Regions from separate parts of the Homo sapiens genome. Here region 1 is linked to region 2. The links are contacts of gene promoters, found by promoter capture Hi-C in blood cells and fetal thymus (Javierre and others, 2016). All regions are on one chromosome and are shown on one strand. The core of a region is centred on a gene start or on the middle of the fragment in contact, and the rest is flanking DNA. Distances in the headings are between cores, read along the strand shown.

Evidence for each region. The method cuts DNA at HindIII sites, captures the fragments that hold promoters and counts their contacts. A CHiCAGO score of 5 or more calls a contact.
Region 1: a contact is called between the fragment with the promoter of KRT76 here and the fragment with the promoter of KRT85 in region 2, in 2 of 17 cell types (megakaryocytes and erythroblasts). The highest score is 5.0, in megakaryocytes.

The regions. Positions count from the first base shown.
Region 1 is chr12:52,775,901-52,778,600 of GRCh38, forward strand. It overlaps KRT76 (keratin 76), which reads right to left and starts at 1,445. Exons shown (of 9, transcript NM_015848.4): 1 at 792-1,445. The coding sequence starts at 1,391. The HindIII fragment of the contact is 4,392 bases long and covers 135-2,700 here.
Region 2 is chr12:52,366,104-52,368,803 of GRCh38, forward strand. It overlaps KRT85 (keratin 85), which reads right to left and starts at 1,378. Exons shown (of 9, transcript NM_002283.4): 1 at 883-1,378. The coding sequence starts at 1,302. The HindIII fragment of the contact is 4,446 bases long and covers 1-2,700 here.

The DNA.
Region 1 (2,700 bases), core at 195-2,694, 410 kb after region 2:
TCCCAAAGTGACAAGTCTACTGAGTGACAAAGCTAAGAATCAAACCCAGGACTGTCCTGGGTCTATAGGGATCCTTCAGAATACCACTGAAGGAGGTAAGCACAAATAAAGTTTGTCATTGTTTTTTAGATGTAAGCTTTTTTCAGCTCCATAAAGGCAGTGAATACAGTCAATGAGGTCTAACATTTCTTTAGAAGTTTCACATAGGAAGACCTCCTTTCAGTTATTCAGCTTGCAGCTGAACTAGAATTCACTTCAGATCCTGGGCTCAGTCCCACACAGACCCAGAACACCCTCCTCTGCCCCAGCATGGACAGCTCAGTTTAATTATTGGCTGAAGCACAGCATCATCTGGAAGGTAAGGCAGCTGCCAATGCACCTCATTTAGATGCAGCCTCAAGATCTGTGCTAACACAAGGTTTTGATTACCAGCTACTTTGGATTATCAAGCAATTGCTTTTCAGGAGAAATTAAAGTAACTGCAATAATTTCATGACTAAAATGGCTCATTCTTCAAAAAGCTAAGAGCATGTTTGGACCCCCACTTCATTTACCCTCATCTCATTCTTAGCAGGAAACCAGGACCAGGAATTCTTCCCCCCATTTCACAGCTGGAAAAAGAAGGCCCAAAAAGTGAAAGGGGCATGATCACTGTCCTGTAGGGACCAAGACAGCACCAGGACAAGAGCCAAGCGCCCCTGCCCTGTGTCTCACAAGTCCCCATGGCATCTTTCTACACCGACCCCTGGGCACCCCAAACCCTCCACAGCACCTCTTGGCCTTGCCCTCACCTTGTCGATGAAGGAGGCAAACTTGTTGTTGAGGGTCTTGATCTGTTCCCGCTCCTGGGCCTTTACTTGCCCAATCTGGGGGTCGATCTCCACATTGAGGGGCTGCAGGAGACTCTGGTTTACAATCACTTCCTGAATTCCCCCAGGAAAGCCCCCAGGGCCAAAGCCACCAGGACCACCAAAGCTGCCAGGCCCACCAAATACACCAGGACCACCAAAGCCACCAGCTCCACCAAAGCCACCAGCCCCTCCAAAACCACTACCTACTCCTCTGCCACCACCAAAGCCACCACCATAGCTGCCCCCAAAGCCACCTCCATAGCCACCTGCAAAGCCACAGCTGCTCCGCCCTCCCCCAAAGCCTCCAGCCCGGGAGCTGCCAGCTGCCACGCTGATGGAGATGCTCTTGTTGCTGCCCAGGTTGTAGAGGCTGCGACTGCCAAAGCTGCCTGCTCCGCTCCTGAAGCCACAGGCCCCTCCACCAGCTCCCCCAGAGCGGGCCACACAGCTCATCCTGCTGCTGCCGGAGACCACAGCAGAGCGGCCAGAGAAACCCTGGCTCCTGCCACTGAAGGATTTCTTGCAAACTTGTCTGTTCATAGTGAGAGAGCTTGGAGGCAAGCTAGTGATCACTTAGCAAGAGCTGAGAGGGATAGGGACAAGAGAGGAGACTGGCCTTTATATAACAGGGAGTTTGGCTTGGCAAAAGGAGAGGCGAGCAATTAGTTGAGAATCATCTTGGGTTTGGTTTGCCTCGTAGGCATTAAGTTACTTCTTGGTTCCCAACACACCTCAGAGATAATCCTCTGGGCCAGAGTGGCTTTGCTTTCTTAGCTTAATCACCTAAACTTGCCTCAGTTGACAAAATGCTGGAGCTCTCCTCCCTCCCTTTTTGTGCTGTCCTCAAGGGTTTCAGGGAACCCAAGCAGCACCTGATCCAGCAGGAGGAAGCAGCTTTAGACACCAGGTGATCCGGAGCCATGAGCTCCCTGACACAGGGGGGTGAGGACCAGGCAACCTCTTCTGAGTGGGCTGGGTCCCTCCCTGCAGCACCACAGTGTCCACAGGCTCCCACAGTGGCTGCGCCCGTCTCTGCCATCATTAGGCCTTTTCTTCCAGTGGCATGTCACCTGTTCCCAACTCTTCAGAGGGCCTGGAGTGGGAGCGGAAGTGAGAGGGGCCCAGACCCATAGAGTCTGCTCTGCCAGCACCTCAGCCAAAGGCATCCATCTCAGCAAACCTGGAGTTTGGGCTGAGAAATGCTACTTATGGGGAAGAAATTACAGTGGAGGTAAACACGTCTAGCTCCTGGAACAGGGAGCAAACAAGTATGAGGTTTGGGAAGAAGAGGGGGCATGCACTGTGGAGAGCCTCAGACCAAGCCCTCCCCCCACCATCCTAGACTGACAGCAGGCAATTTCTGGACCCAGAAGCAAGAGGAGACAGAATCTGGTAACCCTCCAGCTGGCTGGTAGAGTCGGCTCAAGCACCCCATTCATCTTAGGAGGACAGTGTATCTTGTGTCTAGGCCCCAACTCAGATCTTCTGGAGGGGATCCCCTCCCTGCTTTACCCCCTGGTCTGGGTCAGATGCCCCTCCTTGTCTTCCCACCATACCCTGTACTTTTCCCATCGTGAACCTGACATAAAGTATACTTACCTGCTTACTTGTCCATACCCCTCCGGTCCCTGAGCTTCTTGAGGGCAAGGCTTGAGTCCTGCCCATTCTAAATTATCCTAAATGTCCAGCTCCTAGCATAGGGTAAGCACAGCACAAACGTGTTAACTGACTGATGACTGATGTCTAAGAATGCAAATACCTAAAACCAGCTCCCACCCCAGCCCTATGAATGAAAATCTTCAGAGGAAAGGGTTGAGAGTTTGCATTTTTAACAAGCCCTCCAGGTCAT
Region 2 (2,700 bases), core at 128-2,627:
ACTTTCTTGGGAGGCAGCCTCACAGCTATGCAGCGTTCTCCACACTCTGGCTGCATTAGGGGGCCTCCTCCTACCAGCCTGGCCACCTCCCTGTCTGCATTTCAGCCCTCTCTCATGAAGGGGCTGCCAGGCCTGGGTTGGCTGTCACACCTCCTCACCTACCACTGTCCTTGGAAAATAATGATAGTAGCAGCTAACATGTATTGAGTGCTGACTATTTGCCATCATGTTTCATGCATGGACTCATTAATTCCTCACAGGTGGATGAGGCAGTCCTGTTATTCAGCAGAGTAACCTGCCTGGGGTCTCACACTGCTGAGTGATGCAGCAAGGACTTGGGAGAGGCAGCATGGCTGTGGGCATTACCCCAGCCCCTTCACGGGCTGCCTGGCTAGGAGCCACAAGGTCTTTTGGTCTCCCCGTTATCTCCCACTCTTCCAGCACCTGCTGCCCAGTCTGGTTTTTCAGACACAGTTCTGATAGTCCTATGTCGTCTTGGCTCAAGAAACACACACACGCTCACACACATGTACACACTCACATGCATACACACACATATGCTCACACACATGTACACACACACATATACACACCACACACTAACATACGTACAGGCGCACACACCGCTACACACACACACATGTACACACACACACATGCACACACTTTGGATCACAGGCTCAATTTCTAGACCACACCTGGACCTCGTTAAATGCTGCGGGAGTTAAGTGATGGAAACTGACCCTTCCACCTGTATGGGTCTGCACGTCATTCCCTCTGCTGCCTCAAACCGGCAGCCATCCTGTCTCCTCAGCAGACTGGGACCTCCCCAAGGGAGGACAGGGCTGGAGGCTTCTCTGGGCCGTCTCAGGCCTCACCCACCTTGTCGATGAAGGCCGCGAACCTGCTGTTGAGGGACTTGATCTGCTCCTTCTCCTCCTGCTTCACGCACTGTGCGTTGGGGTCGATCTCCAGGTTGAGGGGCGTGAGGAGGCTCTCGTTGACCGACACGGTAGTGATGCATGGGGGGCTGGGTCCGCACACGCCCCCGGAGCGGTAGCCGAAGCTGCGTCCGCAGGAGCCGGCTCGGAAGCCACCTACAGCTATCCGGGGCCCGCAGGAGCCCAGGTTGCAGAGGCTGCGGCTGCCGAAGCCCGTCAGCCCTCGGTAGCAGGACACCCCTCGGTAGGGGGCGGCGCTGATGCAGCAGCGGTTGCCAGTTTTGGGGGCCACAGCTGAGCAGGAGCTGAAGTTCCTGGTGACCCCGCATCCTGAGCTGATCCTGTAGGAGCGGCACGACATCGTGTGAGGCTGAGCAGAGTCTGAGAGGCAGCGGAAGGTGGTGCGGGCGGCAGAGTGCGAGGCTCAGGATCCTTCTGCTCTCTCTGATCCTCCCTGGTCCTTTTATTGGTGGGGAGAGCTGGGGTTGGCTGCATAAAAGGAGTGGAAAGCCATTTTATGTTGTTTATGGGCTTGGGGAGTTTGCCAGCAACTCCCCACGGACTCATCTTAAAGGTGAGCTCAGCAGCGACTCTGGGGCTCCCTGAAGTCTTGAAGATGTTATTAAGGAGACTGCATTTGAACTTTTCATCTTCAAAGCTCGTTTACATACATTAAGTAATTAATTTTCTCACAGTCTTTCTGTGAGATGGCCTCAACCCACACTTGGAGACGGATTTGAACTCCACAACAGCCTGGGGGTGGCTGGGTTTGGGATACAGGCAGGAGCCATTGTCTCAAGGGAGAGGTTGGAGGGTCCTGGGTTAGGTGAGACTTGGGGGATCATTGCATTCATCTATCTGGTTCCACAGAGGACACATTCTCAAGTAAATCATTGCATTTCAGGGGCCAATAGGTCAGGCGAATCCCACCCCATCTAGGCAGCATTGCTTGGAAGGTGGTTCAGGACCAGAGCGGTCATTTTGACCATGCCCGTGCCAGGATAAAAGGCTGGGGCAGATGATCTCTTGGAACCTTCTGGATTCCAGCCCAGAAGGCGCTGGTCCAGAGCTTTCACTTCTCACCCAGCAAAAGTGCAAACCACAGAACTCTCAGTGGCCACAATAATGGCTACTTGCGGATTATGGGGAGACTCCCTCTAGCCACTTTCTTCCATTCGGTCAAAAGGATTGGAGAACTCAACCTTGGGATAACCTGGGGGCTATAAATTTGCTGTGGGCACCTTTGCTTTGCTCTTTAAGAAGAAACAGGTCATGTGAGTCTCCCTTCCCAGACCACCAGCTACAAGAGGTATTCCTTCTGTTGGCCAGCCCTTGAATTGTCATCCCTAGAGGAGTGTTTAGAGACTGCATTGCACAAAGCTGGAAGTGGGATAGTGGTTTATTCTTGTCTAAGGTGGCTATGACTTCTGGCTCCTGGGGGTTCTGGGAGCCCCATCCTTCTAGTTTCTGCTTCCCTGTGTGTCCTTGGGACACTTATTAGGATAACAAGTGCTATTCTTTTAATGTTTATGGAGTACAAACCTTGGGGATGTGGGTCTGCCCCCAGGAAGGTTAGCCAGACACCCAAGTGTTAGGAACTTAAGGAAGAAGAGCCGATGAGCTTCCTCAGAGGGTGACTCCTCCTCCAGGAAGCCTTCCATAACCAAACACTGCCATCATGCTGCTGTTCTCATAAGTCCTTCACGAAATGCCCTGTACTCTGTCCTGCATCTGCTCTAATCTCCACAGCCAGCTGACC